Regions from separate parts of the Homo sapiens genome. Here region 1 is linked to region 2. The links are contacts of gene promoters, found by promoter capture Hi-C in human tissues and cell types (Jung and others, 2019). All regions are on one chromosome and are shown on one strand. The core of a region is centred on a gene start or on the middle of the fragment in contact, and the rest is flanking DNA. Distances in the headings are between cores, read along the strand shown.

Region 1 (6,277 bases), core at 3,109-5,608, 320 kb before region 2:
CAAATGTATTGTAAAAATTTACAAACATTCAGAAAAGTACTAAAAATAATCTAGCACATGCCCATGTACCCATCACCCAGCTTCAATAATTATGAACATTTTGCCAATTTTGTTTTATCTGTCCTCCTCCTTTTCTTGCTGTAGTATAACAAGTCCTAAACATAATTCATCTGTAAGTCTTTAAGGATGCTTCCCTAATGACAAGGGCTTTTTTAAAAAAACAAATAACCACCAGGCTATTATGACACCTAACAAGATTTTATTACCTTTTGTTAAAATTTTTTGAGACAGGGTTTCACTCCCATTGCCCAAGCTGGAGTGAAGAGGCATGATGTCGGCTCACTGAAACCTCTGCCTCCCGGACTCAAGCAGTTCTCCTGCCTCAGCCTCCCAAGTAGCTGGGACTGCAGGCACACATCGTCCCACCTGGCCAATTTTTGTATTTTGGGTAGAGATGGGGTTTCACCATGTTACCCAGGCTGGTCTCGAACTCCTGGGCTCAAGCGATCTGGCTGCCTTTGGCCTCCCAAAGTACTGGGATTACAGGCGAGAGCCACTGTTCCCAGCCTAACTCCTAACAAGATTAACAATAATTTTTTAATATATATCTAATAACCAGAGAGAGAATAGGTTTTTAAGGAATTTAAAATATAATATTTTAATATGTAAATATATGTATATTTAATATAGAATTATATGTAAATGTGTATATATATTTTTTGAGATAGGGTCTTGCTCTGTGGCCTAGGCTGGAGTGCAGTGGCACAACCATGGCTCACTGCAGCCTCAACCTCCCAGGCTCAAGTGATCCTTCCACCTCAGCCTCCTGAGTAGCTGGGACTTACAGGCATACCCCAGCATGCCTGGCTAATTTAAAATTTTTGTTTTGTAAAGGTGAAGTCTCACTATGTTGTACAGACTGGTCTTGAACTCCTGGGCTCAAGTGATCCTCCCACCTTGGCTTCCCAAAGTGCTGGAATTACAGGTCTGAGCCACCATACCTGGCCAGGAGATACTTTGAATGAGAGGGGGTGAGATTACCTAAAGAGGTGACAAGAGAAAAGGGCTCAGGAGTGAACTCTAGAGAGTACCAGCACTTAAAATGAGCCCAAGAAGGAAGTCGGAAGTGGTAGAAATACACAGAAACTGGTGTAGTAGAGTTTTAGAAGGATAGAGGTGATCAGTACTGTTAAATGCATAGAGGTATGCTGAAAAGCATCTGTAGGATTTAGGAAGTAAGATGGCATTGGTAATCTTAGCAAGAACAGTGTAAGTACAGTGTTGGAGACAAATCAGAGTGGAGTTGATAAAAGAATGAATGACAGATGAGAAAAAGGAGATGACTAGTGTAAGCTATTCTTTAAAAGAGGTTGGATGAATAAGGAAGGAGAGGTAATAGCTAGAAGACATGAGCTAAGGGTAGGAAGGTAATGGAGGTGGGAAGACTTGAGCATGTTTATAGCTGTTGGGGTGCAAACTGTTGAGGGAAAAATACAAGTGTTTATGAGATAACTGAAATAATGTGGCTTATGAGCAAATGGCTGGACATAGTATCAAGGCCATAAGGAAAGTCCTAGACAGGAAGAACTAGTGGGTATCAAGGTAAGAAAACATGTTGAGAAATTTGTAGCAGGAATGGAATCTTACAATTGAGGGGAGTCAAACCCACTGGCCTCAGATTTCTAGGTGAAGGAGAGATGATCTCTTAATAATGAGGAGGTAGAAATGGGCATTGAGTAAAAGGGCTTAAGGAAACTGGTAAAGGTTTGGAATACTGAGGGGAAAGGAAAGAGATGGTGGAAGACCACGGAAGCATGAGTCAGTAGTACTGAGCACTCAATGGTGCTTGGAAACCACAACTATAGTGGTAACAGTCTGTATTTTTTTATCCAGCAATACTCAGCTCCCTGTGTGTAGAAGCAGAGAAGGTAGATTGCAGTTATTTTTCCAAGGCTGGCATTTTACTGGGTAGATACTGCTGAAGGAAATACAGGGTGCAGATAGTTCAGCTGGTCAATAATCCATGATTCAGGTTGGATAGGGAAAGAAGGGGGGTTAGGAGGGAATGCCTAGGTAGGTCAAAATGTAGGAATCACAGGACTGGAGAAGTCAGAAGTAGAAAAGCAGATTGCTAGGAGAGACAGGATGACAGATTTTGGTCAGAAAATGGGATATTGGAGTTTAAAGTATCAAATACAGAATAGTTCCAGATGTTCAGAGATCCAGCATGGGATTAGGTACTGAAATGGATTAGAACTAAAAGTCACTAGAATTTAGAAATTGAGAACCATGAGAGTGGATGCAATGACTTGTTGCTTGATTGAAAAATAAATTAATAATAATAAAGGACCATGAGACTAGCCTGTTATAGGGGTTATCTCCATGAACATTGAATTTTCCCAGGATCATAGCAGGAATTGGGTAGAGAAAAAGATTATGAGAAGGTGCCAGAGTCTTCAGTGAATGTCAGGAAATTACCAGGAAGTCAGCATATGACAGAGAAAAGGACAGTATGTTATCTGCATCAAAGGAAAATGTGCTTTTGTTGAAAAGTACAGAAAAAGCCAATACTACAATACTGTGCTAAGCCCCTACCTGTACTCCTCTACCCAACAGCTGCATTCCAGGCCCTGTGGTATAAAAGGTGTGAGAATGAGCATCTCCCACCAGAAATCAGACAGGTTTAGTTAAAGCAGTGAGGCAGAACAAGCATCCTATGAAGAGACTGAGGATGTAGGTGAGTGGTTCTAAAATCTCAGTAGAAGGAACATTGCAAGTAGAAAGAGCCAGCAGTAAGGATGCACGTAGCAGTCTAGAAGTAGAGGTGAGACCAGCTTGGAGATGAAATGAGGAGATGTCTTCTGTTCTGTGCTGGAGAAGTACTGGTAAGTGTGGTGTGGTTGGGATTCACAGGCCTCAGCCATCCTCACTTTGGTACAAGTTATTTTGGTACAGAACTACTAGAATGTCCCAAAGGCTGTAGTACAGGAACATTTCTGAAAGGACAAAAGCTGCCATGAATATTGAGAAATTGTATGGTGCCAGGTACAGCCTGGATCTGAGCAAGACTGCTGGATGGTGTGTGGATAGATAGTGAAGGCCCAGATTTGGGAACAGATTGGATCTCAGATATCCAGAGCAGCACTGTAGAATCTAGTTGCATATAATAATGTTTTAAAAAGGGTATCTTAGGCTGGGCACGGTAGCTCCCGCTTGTAGGCCCAGGCCTTTGGGAGGCCAAGGTGGGCAGATCACTTAAGCCCAGGAGTTCAAGACCAGCCTGGGCTGCATGGCGAAACCCCATCTCTATAAAAAATAAAAAAAATAAAAAAAAAATAGCGGGCATGGTGGCATGTACCAGTAGTCCTAGCTACTCAGGAGACTGAGGAGGGTGGATTGCTTGAGCCTGGGGAAGTCAAGGCTGCAGTAAGCCATGATCATGCCACTACACTCCAGCCTGAGTGACAGAGTGAGACCTTGTCGCCAAAAAAAAAAAAAAAAAAAACAGGGCTACCTTACTCTGGAAAAAACACATGTAGCATTGGCTGAATAAAGAAATGGAGCTTCATGATTAAGGACATTTGGAATCAGAGTGCAATAAACTTTTTGTCTTGTAGCTATAACCAGAATGCATGGCTTTGAAAATCACTGCAGCAGTATATATTTAGCATCTGGTCGCTGAATAGCAGTCTCTTGTGACTGAGGATGATTTTCCATGGTTCCTTTTTGTATTCTGAAATGACTAATGGAACCATCTGGGATCAGCAGATTTTAAGTCCCTGAAGGCTGGAAAAGACTTATACTTGGCTTTATAATTCCCCACAAAGTCAGGCCCAGCACCTTGCACTTAAGTGTTTATTGAATAAAAGAGTGACTTGTGTGGAAGTTATTCATTCTGCTTTAGCTGTTTTTGTCATTCATTCCCTTTTAACTCTTGTAGTTTGTTGTGACTTTAACTTTCTTACGCTTTTTTTGTGGAGCTGCTCGATAAATATTTGACATAGGTATTATGTCATTTTATGGCTCATCCAGTGTCACACAAGTAGTAAATGGTAGAGCCAAAACTCAAAATCAATGTCAGTGGATTCTGAAGGTAGGTGCTTTCTGGTACGCTAGAATTAGTACCAGTATAAGAGGCATAGGAGTGATCTTGTTTCCTGAGCGGAAAGCTTTATTTAGCCCTGTGGTCCTACCCACTCATGCAAGGATGCTTCTCTTTCTCGTCTCACATGAGAACCCTGATGACTGAGAGATCAACAGTGTTTCCTCAGGCCCAGCTGCCCTGCCCAGCGTTCCTGCATCCCACTCTCTACAGGCACAATGTTAGTGGAGCATTGTTCCTAGAGTATTCTTCATCTTAGTTGCTTTACCCTTGCTTCATATATTTGTATGTCTCACGTTTCAGATTGCTCTCAAATATCCCTGAAGCACTTTTTTAAAAAAAATTGTGGTGAAATATACATAAAATTCATCATTTTAAACTTTTTAAACTATGATTCTGAATTAATTTAGAATACTTCTGATGTATAAAATGCTATGTAAAATACGATTTTGCTGTTGGCTTCTGTATTAGTTTTTCATTGCTGTATAACAAATTCCTGCAAACTTAGCAGTTTAAAACAGCATACCTTTGTTATCTCACAGTTTCTATGGATCAGGAGTCCAGCCACAGCTTAATTGGGTCCTCTGCTCAGGGTCTCATTGGGCTACAGGCCAGTTGTTGACTGGGTCTGTAGTCTTATCAGAAGCTTAACTGGGGAAAGATCCACTTTCAGGTTTCCTCCGCTGGCAGAATTCATTTCCTCTAAGCTGTAGGACTGAGGTCCCCATTTTCTTGCTGGCTGTCAGCCAGGGACCACATTTAGCTTCTAGGAGCTGCCTGTAGTTGGTCCCTTGCCATGTAGTTCTGTCCATGAGCCTTCTCATAACATGGCAGCTTAGTTCTTTAAAGCCAGCAAGGGAGAGAGTCAGAGAGCAAAGTTTCTGACTCTCAGGGAAGGCCTGGACCCCCTTTAAAAATATACCTGATTAAGTTAGGGCCACCCAACTCAAAATCTACTGATTTGGGACCTTAATTACATCTGCAAAAACCCCTTCACTTTTGTCATATAATCTAATCATGGGAGTGACATCTTGGCGCATTCTGTTGGTTGAAAGCAAGTCTCATAGGTCCCACTCACGCTCAAAGGGAGTGATTACACCTCCCCTTGGTGAGAATGTGGAGTTTGAATACACGGGGTGGGGGGCATTTTAGAGTCTGTGTGCTATGGTTTCCTTTTTTATCCATTTCATAGGGTTTTTTATCAGCAATTGGACACCCTTTCCCCAAAATGATTTTTAATCATGGAAGGAAAAAGAGAACTTGGAATTACCTTGAATTTGAAGAAGAAGAAAATAAACAGTTAGCAGACTCAATGGCTTCTCTGGCATATCTAGTATTTGTACAGGGCATCCATATTGATCAGCTTCCAATGGTCTTAAGGTAAGAGTTAGTGTTTGGTTTATTCATGTATTCTAAAAGGAATTTCATAAAATTCTCATTTATCTAATGTCCAATATATGCATATTAACACACTAATACATTTTAAATAAATAGTAAAGGCTATTTTTAATAAGAATGATCCCAGCTATAATCTGTTAAAGATAGCAGTAGACAAGTAATGAAAGTGGGGAGTGTTGAAATAGGTGTAAGGGAATGGTGGGGACAAGAATCAGAAGATGATAAACAGGGCTTGGTTTTGAAGCTTTTGAGACCACCCTGGAACTAGCCAGGTACCCAGGGGTATCATCATCTTTTCACTGGATTACTGCTGTAATCCTGAGTGGATTTATATATCTACTTTTACTTCCTTTTAATTTAACACATTCTCAACATACCAGAAAGCGAAGCCTTAAAAGAAGTCCCTTACTGAAAACCCTCCAGTGGCTTTTTATTGCTTTAAGAATAAAGTCTTAATGCCTTTGCATAACTTCTGAGACAAACTTGTGCCTGGTCTGGTCCCTGCTTAATTGACCTGATTCATCTCCTACCACCTTTCCTCTTGTTTACTATGCTCCAGTGACACAGACCTTCTTTTGTTTCTAGTTTAAATGTTATGAATTTTCCTATTTGGCCTTTGTATATGCTTAAAATTCTCTTTATCCTTAAATGTCACTTTCTGAAGAAAGCCTTCACTCACCACCCAATTTAGGTTGAATCCTTCTATTATAATTACCTTGACCTTGTCTTCTTTTCCCACAATGTTTATTAAAATTATTTTTAAAATATATAATTTTA
Region 2 (6,027 bases), core at 78-2,577:
CATAGCAGCTATCTGTATTAAAAAAAAAAAAAAAAAAAAAAAAGCAATTATCCACTGTCACATCCTACTCGGTGTACATACATCCATGCCTTTGAGAAACTTCTCTTTACCTGAACTTCCCTCCTCACTTTTTAGTCTAACTTCTATTTGTCCCTCAAGATCAAGACGAGTTATCACTTCTGCCCAAGAGCCTCTCTCATTCCCTCCCATCCACCCAGGCCTTTCCCTTGAGTCCCAAAGTCCCTGTACATACCTCTTTCTTTTTTGGGGGGAGCGGGGAGACGGAGTCTCACTCTGTCGCCCAGGCTGGAGTGCACTGGCGTGATCTCGGCGCACTGCAACTTCCGCCTCCTGGGTTCAAGCGATTCTCCTGCCTCAGCCTCCCGAGTAGCTGGGACTACAGGCGCCTGCCATCACACCCAGCTAATTTTTGTATTTTTGGTAGAGATGGGCATTTCATTATGTTGGCCAGGCTGGTCTTGAACTCCTGACCTCAGGTGATCCACTTGCCTCGGCCTCCGAAAGTGCTGAGATTACAGGGGCGAGCCACTGCACCCGGCCTCCTCTATCTTAATTCTTAATACAGGCCAGCGCGCCTTGAAGTAAAGCCCACCACAATCCTGCAGTACCCAAAAGAGGGTTCAGACGTTCCAGGGGCTTAATAAAGTTAATTGAATAAATAAATGAAGCAAGAACCCGAACTTCCCCGTCCCAAATGACCACTTGCAGAATAAACACAAAATGCCAGCTAAAGCTAAACGCTCCGTACTTTCTCCTGCATTTCCAAAATTACAGTACAGGCAGCAGCGATCCACACCAGTCCAAGACCTAAGAGGAACTACAAAGACCATGAGTATTTTTCAAAATGGGAGGAGGCAGTTGGACAACTGGACCTCCCACTCCCTCGCCCCAACCTCCTCCTTCCCAGCCCTCCCTTGAAGAAAAACCAGACATTTAGGGGAAAAGAGGGAGAGAGAGAAAAAGATCCCTTGGGGGCAACGAGCCTGAAGTTGGTAAGGCCAAAGGGAAGCGACTGGCAACTCACCTGGGCTGCAGGCACGAAGCGGGGTGGCCTTCTCAACTGCCCGGACTGTCGCACGATGTTGATGGGGTCGGGGAGGGGAGAGGGGGGAAAAAACGGTTGTTCCCACCCAAGGCCGCACCTCGGGGCCGGCCTAAGGCAGCACCCCCTGTGGAGGGTACATTACCTGTATGTTACCTGTATATTACAAAACCGACCTTATGTGATTGCCCCTTTCAGGCTGCACAAAATGAAGCGGTGCAGGGCAACAGTTCTCCGCAGTTCCTCGCCGCCAGTTTTTGTTGTAATGGCGGTCGCGCGACAGGCGCTTTTATAGAAGACCCCCCGCGGGCGGCCTGCCCATTGGTCTGAACCTGTCACGTGACCACACCCAGCCCCGGGCGGTGCAAAAAAGGTGTAGGAGTCTGAGCCGGGCAGCTCAGGCCTGTTAGGGCAGGCAGAGTGGGTTCGGGTGATTGCCGTGTAGAGAGCCGGGGGTTAGGAGTAGGAGCGCTACACTCAAGGCGTTTGCTGTTAACACGACGTTTTCACTAATCAGTTAGCCTAGTAGAGGTTCTTGAGTTTTGGCTTCTGATGTTTTCGTGGTTTTCACGCTTTTTTCCCCAGCCTTCTCCACAGTTCCTGTCTCTTGCACGTAGTGAGTGCTTGATCAATATTAGGTAGCAGCTGAGGCTAGAGACATACTCTCTTTGGGTTTAAAGTGGCAATTTAAGAGCTGTTTCGCAACAGCTGCGTACTGATGAGTGCGTGATTTAGGATTTTGAGTCTTCGCAACTACCTCTTGATGGTTTGCAGATACTTTAGAGGTGCTAACATGTATCAGAAGAATATATTTAGTACAGTAGTTTCCCTTAGGATCAAATAGCAAACAACGCTTCTGAATTCCTAATACTCATTCGCAGTGGATGGATGGGAAGGGGAGGGCAAAAACAGCTGACAAGCTGCTCGCAAATCCGGCCAAAAAACCATCGATCTCCAGTTTCCTGAAGCGGAAGTCTGGGGGCCATTAACAGCTTGACACGTCTTAATTCAATCACTTTGATGTGGCAGGAAAGAACCAAGTGTTCACAAGAAAGCAACGCACTTGATCTACTTACTAGACGTCACATAAATACCTGGATTGGCAAGCACTTTTTGTTTAGATTTAATTTTCGTGTTCTTGTTTTTGCTGTTTAAAGTAGTATTAATGGTGTGGCTGCAGGCGCCTGCAATGCCCGTTACTGGGGAGGTTAAAGCGGAAGGCTCACTTAATCCCAAGGTTTCAAGGCCAGCCAGAGCAACAACGTGAAACTCTAATAGATTAGAGATTAGATATAGAGATTATCTTATTGTTCAGGAAAAGAGTAGATGGGTACAGACTTAGGGTGTGACTCTCACATCATGAAAAATCTGAAAGAAGTCAAGGGAAATGAAAGAGAGGAATGACTCAGTACAAATTTTGCCCCAACTATCAACTTTTTGACCTTCCTCTTGAGAATTAGTGGCAGGGAGACATGTACACTCTAGGTAAAGAAGATTGAGTGATTTTTTTGAGATTGAGTCTTGCTCTGTGGCCCAGGCTGGAATGAAGCAATGCAATCATAACTCAAGGTAGTCTCGAACTCCTGAGCTCAAGCATCCTCCTACCTCAGCCTCTCCAGGTACTGTAGGTGCAGACCACCACATTGCCTTCTGAACCATCTTTTAAAAAGCTTAATCTCAGGCTGGGCTCGGTGGTTCATGCCTGTAATCCCAGCACTTTGGGAGGCTGGGGGTGGGGGTGGGAAGGGGTGGATCACTAGGTCAGGAGTTCGAGACCAGCCTGACCAACATGGTGAAACCCTGTCTCTACTAAAAATACAAAAATTAGCTGGGCGTGGTGGCACGGGTCTGTAATCCCAGCTACTCAGGAGTCTGAGGCAGGAGCATCGCTTGAACCTGGGAGGTGGAGGTTGCAGTGAGCCGAGATCGTGCCACTGCACTCCAGCCTGGGCAACAGGGCGAGACTGCATCTCAAACAAACAAACAAAAAGCTAAATCTCATCATGTTACCACCCTTAAAACCTTTCAATTACTTTCCATTATTTTTAGGATAAAAAGCAAACCCCTTAAGATGAGCTAAAAAGTCCTACATGCCTTCAGCTCCAACTACACCTTCAGTAGTGCCCCCATCTTCAGCCAGTGACCTTTCAGCTCTTTCCAGGACCCTATCCTTTGTCTCTGGGCTTCTACAATTGGCTCTTTCATCCTTCCTCCGATCCCACACTGATTCCTCAACTCTCAGGCTGAAGTCATTTCCTCAAGGGGGCCTCCACTGGATTAGGTCTTCCTGTTAAACACTCTTATTACAACCTAATTAAATAGCACTAATTACAACTGTATAGCCAGTGGTATATTTAATGTCTATTTCCTGCACTAGACAGTATGTACCATAAGTGCAAAGTATCAAAAACTTTTAAAGTATATTATCATTGAGTAAATTACCCTTCGATCCTGCCTTTTGTTTTTTTTTTTTTTTTGAGACAGGGTCTTGCTCTGTCACCCAGGCTGGAGGGCAATGACATGATCATGGCTCACTGCAAACTCCACCTCCTGGGTTCAAGCTATTCTCCTGCCTCAGCCTCCCAAGTAGCTGGGACCACAGGCATGTGCAACCACGCCCAGCTAATTTTTTTTGTATTTTTAGTAGAGATGGGGTTTTATCATGTTGGTTAGGCTGGTCTTGAACTCCTGACCTCAAATGATTCGCCTGCTTTGGCCTCCCAAAATGCTGGGATTACAGACGTGAGCCACTGCACCAGGCCCTGCCTGGGTTTTAATGACTCTGGCAAATTAGATTTGAATTAAGGGGGTGGGGAAAGTAAAAAGACCAGATTTGAAGTTTCTTTTGTTTTCTGTTATTTTTGTTTTCTTTTTTTTTTAACTTGAAATGGCTGCAAAAATGGAGAATATGGAGAATGGGTTTATTTGGGAGGTAGACCTCCCCACTAGGATTTGGTATTAGATTAGATGTAAAGATGGTCTGGGTTGCATTGAGCATTTGGAGAATGGCACCATTTACTGAAAGGGAATCAGTCTTAGAAGGTTGAAGATCATTATTTCAGTTTTGAATATTCTGTAAGATATCTAGGTGGAGATTTTGAATAAGAAGTTGATTAACCAGTTCAAAATACAGTCTAGGCTAAAGATGGGAAAGAAGGACAGGAAGGAGGTTAGGAGAGAGTGGAAATTTTTCTAAATAATTATTACAGAGAACAGAACAAGCTGATTGGAAATGTGCATTTAGTAAGACATACTTGAGACAGTGAAGACACAGAAATTGGTGACTGTTTGTGGAGAAATGAGGTAGTAGCATTGAGATTTGCCAGGGGTGTATGACAGAAAAATGGTAGGGGAAAGTAGCTTCAAAAATATGGAAAAGAAAGTGGGCTGGGCGCAGTGGCTCACGCCTGTAATCCCAGTATTTTGGGAGGCCGGGGTGGGCGGATCGCCTGAGATCAGGAGTTTGAGACCAGCCTGGCCAACATGGTGAACCCCGTCTCTACTAAAAATACAAAAATGAGCCAGGTGTGGTGGTGGGTGCCTGTAATCACAGCTACTCGGGAGGCTGAGGCAGGAGAATTGCTTGAATCTGGGAGGCGGAGGTTGCAGTGAGCCAGGATTACACCACTGCATTCCAGCCTGGGCGACAGACTGAGACTCCATCTCAAAAAAAAAAAAAAAGAAAGTGGCTGAAGACTAGGATATTATGAGGCTATTCTATGACATATGGAAATACTCGTAATTATGATTTTTTAAAAAATCATCAAAGAGTTTCAGGTAGCATGCATTTTTCATTTAAATCAGGCTATCACAAGAACATACTTTGGAGACATTTTAACATTTCCATCCTTCACAGTGATTGGGGGATCACCGGGTTGCCTAAGGAGGGAGGAACCAACCCAGGTCAGAAACGGATCAGGTTGGCCGGGCACCGTAGCTCATGTCTGTAATCCCAGCATTTTGGGAGGCAAGGAGGGGTGATCACTTGACATCAGGAGTTCAAGACCAGCAGAGCCAACATGGTGAAGCCCCGTCTCTACTAAAAATAAAAAAATTAGCTGGATGTGATGGTGCCCGCCTATAATCCCAGCTACTTGGGAGGCTGAGGCACGAGAATTGCTTGAATCCGGGAGGTGGAGTTTGCAGTGAGCCAAGAATGAGCCACTGCACTCCAGCTTGGGCGACAGAGTGAGACTCCATCACAAAACAAAACAAAACAACAACAAAAAGAAATGTAGCAGGTCAAAACTCCTGTGCTGATCAGTAATGGGATCTCAGCTGTGAATAGCCTGTGCACTCTAGCTGGGCAATATAGCAGGACCTTGTCATTAATATATATATATATATATATATATATATATATATATATATATATATATATATATTTTGTTGTTGTTGTTGTTTAAGTTTCCATCCTTCATCTAACATTAGATTCAACAAAAGGAAACCCATCTTCTGGTCTCCATAGCAACTATAGATTCACAAATGTCCTCAAAACTAAGAGTTAAAGAATTTAAATTTACAACTGGTTTATCACTAAAAATGAAAAAATATCACTCTTGCCTCAGAAGGAGGAAATTTTTTAAAAAGTAAAAATAGGCCGGGTGCAGTGATTCATGCCTGTAATCCCAGCACTTTGGGAGACCGAGGCGGGCAGATCATTTGAGTCCAGGAGTTCAAGACCAGTCTGACCAACATGGCGAAACCCCATCTCTACTAAAAATACAAAAATTAGCCGGGCGTGGTGGTGGGTGCCTGTAATCCCAGCTACTCAGGAGGCTGAGACAGGAGAATCGCTTGAACCCAGGAGGCAGAGGTTTTAGTGAGTCAAGATCATGCCACTGCACTCCAGCCTAGGTGACAGAGTGAGACTCCGTCTCAGAAAAAAAAAAAAAAAAAGGTGTAGAGACAGGGTCTCACCGTGTTGCCCAGACTGGTCTCTGGTCTCGAATTTCTGGCCTCAA

What was found. The method cuts DNA at HindIII sites, captures the fragments that hold promoters and counts their contacts. A contact is called where the count stands out against the background at its distance.
Region 1: a fragment that was not itself captured here is called in contact with the fragment with the promoter of BRDT in region 2 in 1 of the 25 tissues and cell types used here (IMR-90 fibroblasts).

Annotation. Positions count from the first base shown.
Region 1 is chr1:92,270,670-92,276,946 of GRCh38, reverse strand. It overlaps GLMN (glomulin, FKBP associated protein), which reads left to right. Exons shown (of 19, transcript NM_053274.3): 8 at 5,295-5,482. Among named protein-coding and RNA genes, the nearest start is that of GLMN, 25 kb to the left of the region's middle. RefSeq lists a silencer at 4,738-4,938. The HindIII fragment of the contact is 5,282 bases long and covers 1,718-6,277 here.
Region 2 is chr1:91,944,701-91,950,727 of GRCh38, reverse strand. It overlaps BRDT (bromodomain testis associated), which reads right to left and starts at 1,327. Exons shown (of 19, transcript NM_207189.4): 1 at 1,046-1,327. The HindIII fragment of the contact is 14,429 bases long and covers 1-5,132 here.